4 separate regions of the Homo sapiens genome follow, and all the other regions are linked to region 4. Evidence: promoter capture Hi-C in 16 types of primary human blood cells and fetal thymus (Javierre and others, 2016). All regions are on one chromosome and are shown on one strand. Each heading gives the region's core, a stretch centred on a gene start or on the middle of the fragment in contact. The rest is flanking DNA. Distances are from core to core; before and after follow the strand shown. Region 1 overlaps AIF1L (allograft inflammatory factor 1 like). Region 2 overlaps SPACA9 (sperm acrosome associated 9). Region 3 overlaps GTF3C4 (general transcription factor IIIC subunit 4). Region 4 holds the start of MED27 (mediator complex subunit 27).

Evidence for each region. The method cuts DNA at HindIII sites, captures the fragments that hold promoters and counts their contacts. A CHiCAGO score of 5 or more calls a contact.
Region 1: a contact is called between a fragment that was not itself captured here and the fragment with the promoter of MED27 in region 4, in 1 of 17 cell types (non-activated CD4 T cells). The highest score is 5.2, in non-activated CD4 T cells.
Region 2: a fragment that was not itself captured here is called in contact with the fragment with the promoter of MED27 in region 4 in 1 of 17 cell types (activated CD4 T cells); the score reaches 5.0 in activated CD4 T cells.
Region 3: a fragment that was not itself captured here is called in contact with the fragment with the promoter of MED27 in region 4 in 2 of 17 cell types (total B cells and naive CD8 T cells); the score reaches 5.7 in total B cells.

What each region holds. Positions count from the first base shown.
Region 1 is chr9:131,118,308-131,121,007 of GRCh38, reverse strand. AIF1L (allograft inflammatory factor 1 like) reads right to left here. Exons shown (of 6, transcript NM_031426.4): 6 at 1-773. The coding sequence ends at 686. Among named protein-coding and RNA genes, the nearest start is that of NUP214, 5.9 kb to the left of the region's middle. The HindIII fragment of the contact is 3,545 bases long and covers 1-2,700 here.
Region 2 is chr9:132,882,810-132,885,509 of GRCh38, reverse strand. SPACA9 (sperm acrosome associated 9) reads right to left here. Exons shown (of 4, transcript NM_001316897.2): 2 at 1,419-1,599. The coding sequence starts at 1,562. Among named protein-coding and RNA genes, the nearest start is that of SPACA9, 5.3 kb to the right of the region's middle. The HindIII fragment of the contact is 3,076 bases long and covers 1-2,700 here.
Region 3 is chr9:132,673,817-132,676,516 of GRCh38, reverse strand. All of the region lies in intron 1 of GTF3C4 (general transcription factor IIIC subunit 4), which reads right to left. Among named protein-coding and RNA genes, the nearest start is that of GTF3C4, 4.7 kb to the right of the region's middle. The HindIII fragment of the contact is 1,193 bases long and covers 817-2,009 here.
Region 4 is chr9:132,078,461-132,081,160 of GRCh38, reverse strand. It overlaps MED27 (mediator complex subunit 27), which reads left to right and starts at 1,294. Exons shown (of 8, transcript NM_004269.4): 1 at 1,294-1,519. The coding sequence starts at 1,317. RefSeq lists an enhancer at 1,118-1,397. The HindIII fragment of the contact is 6,112 bases long and covers 1-2,700 here.

The sequences.
Region 1 (2,700 bases), core at 201-2,700, 960 kb after region 4:
ACGCTGCCTCTCAGCTGCCTGCACAGGTGTGGCCAGAGAGCAGGACTGGAGGGTTCCTTCTGGTACCTTCTTGAAGGGCTCCCAATGCCAAGCTCCTTTCCTTCCCACCTTCACATCACTGAGGATGAGAAGAGGTGTGGAATGAGTGGGGATCAGCTGGGGCAGCGGGGCCCCGAGTGGCTGTGTCCTGGGTGACACCAGAGCACTGGAGCCATGGCACTGTCCAAGGAAACCCGAAAGAGGCCCTGCAGCCTTGTCCCTACTCCAAGGTCTTCTCAGAGTGGCCTGGGGTCCTCGTCAGAGCCAGGTCAGTGAGCCTGAACTTGGCTTGGAGACTTTCTGAAAGGATGGAGAGTGCTGGTTCCTCCAAGTGAGGGGAACACAGGCTGGAAGCCTCCCTGCCCTGGCCCTGCCCCCTCTAGTTTTTGGTTTGATGTCAGCCCTTCTGCACAGGGAGCGGGGAAGGAGGGAAGAAGAGAGGGAGGGGACCCAAGGCTCAGGATTCCCCGACCCAGAGCCCCTTTAAGGCAGATAATTTGTGCTTTACAAAGACATTGATGAAAACACAAACAAACCCTCAATGACCAAACAAATGAGAGAGAGAGAGATCACAGTGTGTCAAGAAGGGCAGCAAGATCGGGAGGGAGGTATGGGGTGGGAAGGCTGGGGAGTCCAGGCGGGGTCCTCAGGGCAGGCTAGCAATGTCTCTCTCTGGAGGGGGGCCAACTGGCTTGGGGCTGCTCTCGTTGGCTTTTCCTTCAAACATCATGACTCTGGTTTGGAGATGGAGAAAAGAAAAAAAGAAAGAAAAACAAGATTAGGATCCTTCCCTCATCCAGGGAAAGATCATCCCAGCCTCATGTCAGCAGGGTCCTCAACAGAATTTAAATCTGTTCTCCAGTGGGATCCTTGCAGAAGCCCAAGACAGCAGCTCCAAGGAAGGGGCTGCTAGTCCCATTTTACAGAGGAGAAAATGGAGGCGCAAAGTGGTGATATGACTCCTCAGAACCACACAGGCGGTCCAGGGCAGAGGCTGGGTACGACTCCAGGCTTCTGACTTCCAGGCCATACCCTTCCCTTAACCACACTGCCTGGAGGAGGCTGAGCCAGGCTGGGCCACGCCTCTGCGCAAAGATCTTCAAAAACCTGCCCACTGCTCTGAGAGTGGTGTCTGGGGAGTAGAGGGTAGGGGCTCAGCGTATAACCTCTAGGGCAACTGCCTAGATTCAAATGCCAGCCCTGCTACTTCCCAGCCGGGTGGCTCAAGCAAGACACTTGACCTCTCTGATCCTTGGCGTTTCTCCCTGGAAGTGGGGTGCTAGAAGATCTGGCCAGATTGGACCGTGGGCTCATGGGCCAGGTACTCAGTCTCCTTGGGCCTCAACAAGCTCCTTTGTAAAATGAGACAGGTATATTTTACATTCGTACTTTAAAAAAGTGAATCTTATTTCATAAAAGCCAAGTAAGTGTTATTTTCTGTTTTCTTTTTTTTTTTTTTTTTCTTTTGAGACAGAGTTTTGTTCTTGCCGCCCAGGCTGGAGGGCAATGTCACGATCTCTGCTCACTGCAACCTCCGCCTCCTGGGCTCAAGTGATTCTCCTGCCTCAGCCTCCCGAGTAGCCAGGATTACAGGCGTGAGCCACAACACCCAGCTAATTTTTGTATTTTTAGTAGAAACGGGGTTTCACCATGTTGACCAGGCTAGTCTCGAACTCCTGACCTCAGGTGATCCACCGGCCTCAGCCTCCCGAAGCGCTGGGATTAAAGGCGTGAGCCAGGGCACCTGGCAGAGTGTTATTTTCAGCTGTGACAAATGACAATGAGACTGCCCTGGGGCAATGCTGTAACGCTCTTCAATGGGGCAGCACCCACAATGTGCTACCACGTAGTAGGTGTTTGCCATCAGCCACACAAGGCTGAAATCTTCATAAGTGTCATTTCACTAGCCCTCAGGACATCACGGAAGACATGATTATCACCCCTATTTTATAGATGAAGAAACTGAGACTCGCAGACCTAAGGTAACTTGCCCAGGGTCATTTTGGTAGCAAGTAATAGCATCAAGATGCAAACCCTGCCTCCCTTTGGGGCCAATTTTTGACTCTATTTTATGCTTACAAGCCTGTGGGGGTAGTGGAGGTGCTTTACAAATGGGGAAACTGCCAGGCATGGTGGCTCACGCCTGTAATCCTAGCACTTTGGGAGGCCGAGGGGGTCTGATCTCTTGGAAGTCAGGAGTTTGAGACCAACCTGGCCAACATGGCGAAACCCCATTTCTACTAAAAATACAAAAATTAGTTGGGTGTGGTGGCGCACACCTGTAATCCTGGCTACTCGGGAGGCTGAGGCAGGAGAATCACTTGAGCTCAGGAGGCGGAGGTTGCAGTGAGCTGAGATCATGTCACTGCACTCCAGCCTGGGTGACAGAGCGAGATCTCAAAAAGAAAAAAAAAAAAAAGGAAAACTAAGGCTCGGAAAGTTTCAACAGATTTATCACCATTATCACCATCACCACCATCATCATCATCACAGTTGCCACTTACTGAGTACTGATTCTGCCTGACTCTGCTACAAGCTAATTTCCCCTACAGGGTACATATTAATATGACCATTTGGGCCGGGTGTGGTGGCTCACGCCTATAATCCTAACATTTTGGGAGGCTGAGGAGGGCAGATTACCTGAGGTCAGGAGTTTGAGAC
Region 2 (2,700 bases), core at 65-2,564, 800 kb before region 4:
ACAGGGTCTTGCTGTGTCACCCAGGCTGGAGTGCAGTGGTGCGATCTCGGCTCACTGCAGCTTCTGCCTCCAGGGTTCATGTGATTCTCATGCCTCAGCCTCCCGAGTCACTGGGACTACAGGCGCGTACCACCACAACTGGCTAATTTTGGGATTTTTAGTAAAGATGGGGTTTCACCATGTTGGCCAGGCTGGTCTCCACTCCTGGCCTCAGGTGATCCACTCACCTCGGCCTCTCAAAGTGCTGGGATTACCGGCATGAGCCGCTGTGTCTGGCCTCTATATTTAACATTTTTTTGAGTTAAAAAATTGAGGAAACATTTTACCAAAATTAGAAAAAAAAAGTGTTTTTTTTCATTTTTTTGTTTTTGTTTTTGTTTTGTTTTGTTTTGTTTTTGAGACGGAGTCTCACTCTGTCGCCCAGGCTGGAGTACAGTGGCGCAATATCGGCTCACTGCAACCTCCACCTCCCAGATTCAAGCAATTCTCCTGCCTCAGCCTCCCGAGTAGCTGGGATTACAGATGCGCACCACCACGCCCAGCTATTTTTGTATTTTTAGTAGAGACAGGGTTTCACCATGTTGGTCAGGCTGGTCTCAAACTCCTGACCTCATGATCCACCTGCCTCGGCCTCCCAAAGTGCTGGGATTACAGGCATGAGCCACCACGCCTGGCCAGAAAAAAATGTTTTTAAAGGATGCTGCCAGCAAGGGTTGCTTGTTCCTCCCGAGCCTGTTTCTCCTCTGCAGTTCTGAGCCCTGCGCCTGTTCCCACCCATCTTGGGGCAGTTACCCTTCCACAAGCTGACTCCCTCCAAGCTGTGAAGGGCCGGCCTGTGTGTGTTCCTAACTGCACTGCAGCTCCAGCCCCTAACATCCTGGAAGGATCATTTGGTCTTGAGGCCTCCAAGTCCTGCACAGCAAACCTGGACAGCAGCTAACCCTGGAGGAGATGCAGGTTAAATAAAAACATCTGCGAAAGCACCTGGCGGTGTGCTTGGCATCCCACAGTTCCTCAACCCCCAGTGGAATCTGATGGGAAGGACAGGATCCCTCTGGTCACCAGTAAATCCCTGGTTTTCTATGGGTGACCACTGAACCTGCGTCACAGATGAGGACACTGAGGCACAGAAAGGTGAAGTCATTGGCCTGAGATCACAGCAGTGGCACATGGTAGAGCTAGGACTTAAGCCCTGGCCGGCTGAGTTTTAAACCTGCCTCTTTATTCACTTGTTGTTATTCACTTACATATTTGGTAGAGAAACGAATGAAGGACTCATTACATCATTTAGGTTCTGGGTCCGGGTCCTAATTCTGGCGCAAACGTCCTTCCCCTCTCTGGGCCCCAGTGGTTTCATCTTTTGTGAGAGGGGACTGGGCTTGTTGCCCCTCGGCCGGGGTGGGGGTCGGGAGCCCCACCTGTCCAATGCTGGAGATGGGCCGGATCTTGTCGTGGGCGTTCTCCCTGCAGTGCTCCAGAGCGGCGGTGAAGGTGAGCTGCTGCTGCTGGAAGAGCTTGTACTTCTGCTCGATGCTGCGAAGGGATTCTTTCACCTCATTCATTGTCTTCCTCTGTGGTCATTTACAGGAGAAGAGGAATCTATGGGGAGACAGAGGATAGTGATGAGGTCCTGGGACCCAATGCTCGGATCCAGCTCCGGAGGGAAGGACTGTCAGGGGAGAGGGATACCCATGGCCCCTCTCACTGGAGCGCCTTGTGAGTGCCTCCCCACAGAAGAAAGCGAGGCCCTGGGAGGCTGCACACTTGTCCAGAGCCCCCAGGCTGTCCATGACAGAGCTGAGCCTGACCTCGAAATTTACCCTCCATGAACACATTCTTTGCCAGGAAATGTGACTTCTTCCCTCAGCTGTGGACAGAGTTTCTCTGGTTCTGTTTCTCCAGATGTGGGTATCTACACACACGCGCGCACACACACACGCACACACATGCATGTGCACACACATACAGGTACATGCATACACACACACACGCACGCGTGTACACACACGCCCTCCAATCCCTTGCTGTGGTGTCAGCAAAACCTGGGATCAAGGGATATGCCACAGGATATAAAACCAGGAGATGATCAGTTTGGATCAAATTATTGTAAAGCTGCTCTGCAACTGGTGGGAAAGTCTGGGAATTCCTTCCCATGGATTAAGCGGGGAGAAGAATCAATACTAGACTGTCTAGTTTGAGAAGATGTAAGTCTGCCTGCTCTGGGCTGGGGGCAGGAGCCTTGGTCTCAGGTTTGCGCATTCTCAGGGCAGGGCTGGTGGCTAGTGGACTGCCCCCTGACCCTGTTAATTGCTGGAATGCCATGATCAGTAACATGGAGGCTGTGGGGAGGACTCTCTCTTGGCGCCTCACAGACTGTCCCTGCTGTGATTTAGGTGCTCCACAGAGCATCTACAATCCTCCTGTGAGCAGAAAAGTCTGTGGGTGTGTGCTCCATGACATCACAGTTTTGCTGAGCGCGTGCAAAATGCTCCAGACCACAGATTTCTATTCATGTTAGAGCTGGAAGGGACTGAGAAAACCAGCTCCCTTGAGCTGCTATGGGGAAAGTGAGGCTCAGAGGGAAAGGTTTTGCCCAGGGTGTCACAGCAAATTTGTGCCCAAGACACCCTGGGTCCTAGGCTTCCTTACGTCTAACCAGCATCGTCAGTGCTGCCACACTCGGCTGCCCCTCCACTGCCT
Region 3 (2,700 bases), core at 164-2,663, 600 kb before region 4:
AGGCCCCATCTCTACTAAAAATAGCAAAAAATTAGCCAGGCGTGGTGGTGGGCACCCATAACCCCAGCTACTTGGGAGGCTGAGGCAGGAGAACTGCTTGAATCTGGGAGGCAGAGGTTGAAGTGAGCCGAGATTGCGCCACTGCACTCCAGCCTGGGTGATGGAGCCAGGCTTTGCAAAAAAAAAAAAAAAAATCCCCCAAATGGTACATAAATAACAAAAACTACAGACCATTAAGCCTAACAGAAAATTCCTCAATGTATTAACAAATGAATAGTTTGTGCAGACAGGAGTGATGATTAGAAACAAGCAAAGGATGGCTGGGCGTGGTGGCTCACGCCTGTAATCCCAGCACTTTGGGAGGCTGAGGTGGGCGGATCATGAGGTCAGGAGATCGAGACCATCCTGGCTAACACGGTGAAACTCCGTCTCTACTAAAAATACAAAAAAATTAGCCGGGCATGGTGGTGGGTGCCTGTAGTCCCAGCGACTCAGGAGGCTGAGGAAGGAGAATGGCATGAACCCGGGAGGTGGAGCCTGCAGTGAGCCAAGATGGCACCACTGCACTCCAGCCTGGGCAACAGAGCAAAACTCCATCTCAAAAAAAAAAAAAAAAAAAAAGGGTAACTGGAATAGTCTATTCTTATTCTCTTTTCTGCTAAAATTGCTAGATGACATAATAGATAAGCAAATAAAATGAAATGTAAATAGAAAATTGTCCACAAAATAGAGAACTAACTTTTCCTACAGTGTGTTTCACAGTACACTACTCCCTTTAATTGTCCCTTGAAAAATAGTTCTATGGCCAAACAAGCTTTGGAAATACTATATTTATATGTCGTTCTCCCTTGAAAAGTGACACGAGGACACTAAATGCCTCGGCCAGGGAACTACTATAAAGACCTACTGAGCCACAGGAAGCCAAACTTTTTTGCCTTTTTAAACAACAGAGCCTTTTTTTTGGAGGTGAGGGAGGCAGTTATTACCCTTTATTATCCAAAAGTATGTGGAATACTTTGGGAATGGTGTTTTAGGCAGTGTATCTTGATTTTAGGAAGGCATTTTAAAGTAGTCTCTTGGATACACTATGAAACTTGCTGGAGAATCATAGACTGAAAATGCCAATTAAATGAGGTGTAGGTGGCTGGCTTGGAAATAAAACAATGCTAATCAAAGCCCGGTGCTTTCTACAGGCAGATGAAATTTGTGAGATGACATAATGAAGCACAACATAATAACTGAAAATCTGTGCTATGACGCCAGACTACCTGGGTTCAAATGCTGGCTCTGCTACATACCAGCTCTGTGTGCGCAAATTGCTTAAACCTTCTGACCTTAATTTCCTCATTTATAAATGAGACTAATACATGTCCCAGAAAGTTAGGAAGGTTAAATAAGTCAATATATCAAAGCATATATTAAGCGCTCAATAAAGTTACCTATGATAATTGTTAATATACTCTGAGGACTAAGTTAAAAAAAAAACTTTTGAGATTCCTCTCTGTCACCCTGGCTGCAGTGCAGCTGGCGTGACTACAGCTCACTGCCGCCTCAACCTCCCGGGGTCAAGTGATCCTTTCACCTCAGCCTCCTGAGTAGCTAGGACCACAGGTGCACACCACCATGCCTGGCTAATTTTTAAAATTTTTTGTAGAGATGCGGTCTCTCTCTGTTGCCCAGGCTGGTCTTTAACTCCTGGGCTCAAGCGATCCTCCGGCCTTGGCCTTCCAAAGTGTTGGGATTACAGGTGTGAGCCACAGCACTCAGCCTTAAGTAAATGTTAATAAGATATTTAATGCTAATAAAAGTATGCAAAAATGCAAGGTAGACATAAAGTTGTGTACCAAATGAAAGGTAGATATAAAATTGTTCATCAAATCCTTTAATACTGTGAACTAAGCAATACTCCTTAGAATAGGTTAAATTTGCTACAAATAAAAGCTACTGTAGAAGTAAACTCACAGGATTGGTAACCCAAAGCAGCAGCACGGGATGAAATAAAGGAAGCTTAAGCAACCCTTGGTCCTACTCATTGTGGGAAGAATTCTTGACAGGATGGAGAGCAGTACAGATCTTGACTGGTAGGAAAAAGTCTTAGGGTTTTGTGTAGCAATTTCTGACATATGTTTCAACTAGACTACTGAACCTCCCTCCAACTCTCCCTATCACAAAACTGTTAACAAATCAAGTATTCAGATGCCCAAGGAGTATACTTAAAAAGTCCAGCTCCCAGAGGCCTGCCCGCAGCCAATCATTTAATTGTACACCATCCAGTTTCCAGTTGACCACTATTAGGTTGGTGCAAAAGTAATTGCGGTTTTCACCATCACTTTTAATGGCAAATACTTTTAATACTAACTGTTAGGCATTTTGTAAGCACCTGACAAAAATTCACTTGAAGCTTTTAGACAGTAAGCTTCTTGAGGACAGGTAATAGAGTCCAAAGACAGGCAACAGTTATTTAACTTAATGTAGCAGATGAAGTTAATACTTTCTAAGGCTCCTAACAATTGATGCACAATACAATTCGGTACACAAATATTATCAGAATTTGGAACTATACACAAATGTCTCACTAGATGAGTCACTAAATCAGTAGTCCAATGGGAAAAACAATTCTGACATTCTTAAATCACTATTTCATTGCTTTTCAGATTTATACTGTCCACCTTTATATCATACAATCTTATAAAACAGCTG
Region 4 (2,700 bases), core at 45-2,544:
CAGCCTTCCTACAACTGGTTATTGTTATTGCCACTAGTTAACCAAGGAGGACTCTTGTCTTGGGTTGACATGAAGGTGAGTTGAAGGTCACAATCATGATCTGCCTCCTGCTCTCCTCTTCTCTGCTCCAAGCTATGCAACCCCAGCTCCTCTAAGGAAAGAACATGAGGACTTGGGCAGGTTCCCTTTAGTAAAAAGATAATAAATTTTCAGAAACCTGTCTATAGCCAACAGGACAAAGAGACATTGAATTTTTCCATAAAGCCAGATTTGGCCAACATTTTGTTGGTTTTATTTAAATCCCAAACCTTCTCTTTCTTCCACAACCTCTATGCTATGTATGTTATTTTCAGAGGTGTGTGTTCACTGTAAACCAGCCACCATTCTACTTTCTGTCTCTAACATTTTGACTACCCTAAACACCTCATATAAGTGGAGTCACACAGAATTTTGTTTTTTTGTGACTGGCTTATTTCACTTAGCATAATGTCTTCAAGTTTCCTCCAGGTAGCATATGTCAGAATTTTCTTGCTTAAGCCTGAAGAATTTTTCATTGTATGCCAGTATCACACTTTGTTTATTCATCAGTTTATGGACACTTGGGTTTCCCCTGCCTTTTGGCTATTTGGTGAATAATGCTGTTATGAACATGTGTACAGGTATTGAGTCCCTGCTTTCGCTTCTTTTGGGTATATGCCCAGAAGTGGAATCTCTGGATCATTATTTTCCTCTTCTTAATTAATAAGCATCTTGGGGGACGATACTTTGAGATTACCTAAAAAGCCTGTTATTTTTCTGACACTTTCACCCACTAGTTTTAGCATCCATCGATTTCTATCTGAATCAATTATTCTAATGGCTGTCAAATGGCAATTTTCTAATTCCATCACTCTTTCTGCATTTATGAGCTGGCATTCTATTGGAAAGAAGAAACTTTCCTTCTCCCCGCTTTATTTATGAATATGGACTCATTTTATTGAATGGGCTATGTTCCTTTCCTTTTTACACTATTGCTCTGAGCAATTCTTTTCCCTATGATTCCCCAGAGTGCAAGTTTGGGGAAATGCGGGAACTTTCTGTATTTCTTTGTCACCATTAAGCAAACCGGGAGTGCAACCTGACTTCCCCAAGTTGAGAAAAATCACTTTCCTGCCCATGCATTAGTTTAGCTCAAGGGGAAACCCTTTTTCGAAAGTGCTTTCTGGGTAGCCCCGCGCGAACTGCATTTCCCAGAGGTCTTCGGAGATACGTCATCAGCGAGCGCGGCTTTTTTGCTTGCGAAGCCGGCTTTGGAGAGCTGCTGTGGCGGCGGCAACATGGCGGACGTGATAAATGTCAGTGTGAACCTGGAGGCCTTTTCCCAGGCCATTAGTGCCATCCAGGCGCTGCGCTCCAGCGTGAGCAGGGTGTTCGACTGCCTGAAGGATGGGATGCGGAACAAGGAGACGCTGGAGGGCCGGGAGAAGGCCTTTATTGCGCACTTCCAGGACAACTTACATTCGGTCAACCGGGACCTCAAGTAGGTACCGGCTGAAGGGGCCGGGGTCGGGGACCGGCCCCGCTCCGACCCTGCCCCTACGTCGCTCGAGTCTTCCCAGGCAGGGGCTGTTCTCCGTTTCCCTTGATCCCTGTTCTTTCTCTTCTTGTTCTCCAAGCCTCTGCCTGTCCCTCAGGGACATCTTAACACCATCCCCGCTTTCTCGTCTTGCTTCTCCTGGCCTCCTGGTCCTGTTTGTCTTCCGCCATCCTCGACCTCTTCTGTGGCGGTTCCATTCCTAACAAGGAGGCATGCTTTTCCCATGAACTTCCACTTCTCTGAGCTTGGCAGGTTTCTCACCTGTAGGCCCTCTGTGCCCCATCACGTCTGATCCGAATGTAGTAATAGTACAGACAGGACCTGGTCAGTCGGCTCCAAACCCAAGTGCACCCGATCTGATTAGCCCCAATTCCCCGGCCCTGAACTTGGACTTCATCAGTTCCACCACCACCCACCCGCAACCACGACGGACCGGCCAGGCCTTGAGCTGTCTTCACCTTTTCCCCTAACCGCTCCCAAACCACCTGATCAGTTTCCTCACTCCCACTCCTGTGGGAGTTCCTTCCGCAGTAGAGACCTACTCTCTAATCTCTTAACCAGTTTAATTACTTATGCTTAACGCCCCTGCTTCTTAATTTGTAGTCTTTTAGGGTTAAGGATTCCACTTTTCCTCCTCTTCCTTACAAAGTACCTTCTTCACTTACACTTTTTAAGTGTTGTAAGAATTAAATGAGAGGATGTTTGTAAAGGGCCTGGCACATAGTAGGCACTTCTTGATTGCTTAGGTCCTGAACTTGCCTTCTGTTTTATAAGAGAGTCAGTCCTTCCCAGGAAGGTTAGAATTTCAGGATTTTTGCCTTTTACTTCTCAGAACTGACCTGAGTAGGGGAAAGCATTTGGTGAGCTAGTCATCCTTTGATTTCTGGACTGGTTGGATTTTTGTTTTTTCAACTTGGTCTCCTTAGTAACCAGATGGAAAGAGGAGGTAGGATGGAGGAGGAGGAGGAGGAGGTGGCCAAATGATGGGTGCCTTTTTGTTTTCCCCCTAAGTAGTTGCCGTAAATCACACAGCCCTCCTCAACGCCCACATCCGCTTGCTGTTCTCTGGCACCGCGCCGAGCACCAGTTAATACTTTCTCTGCTTCAGGGGATGCACTGGCTAT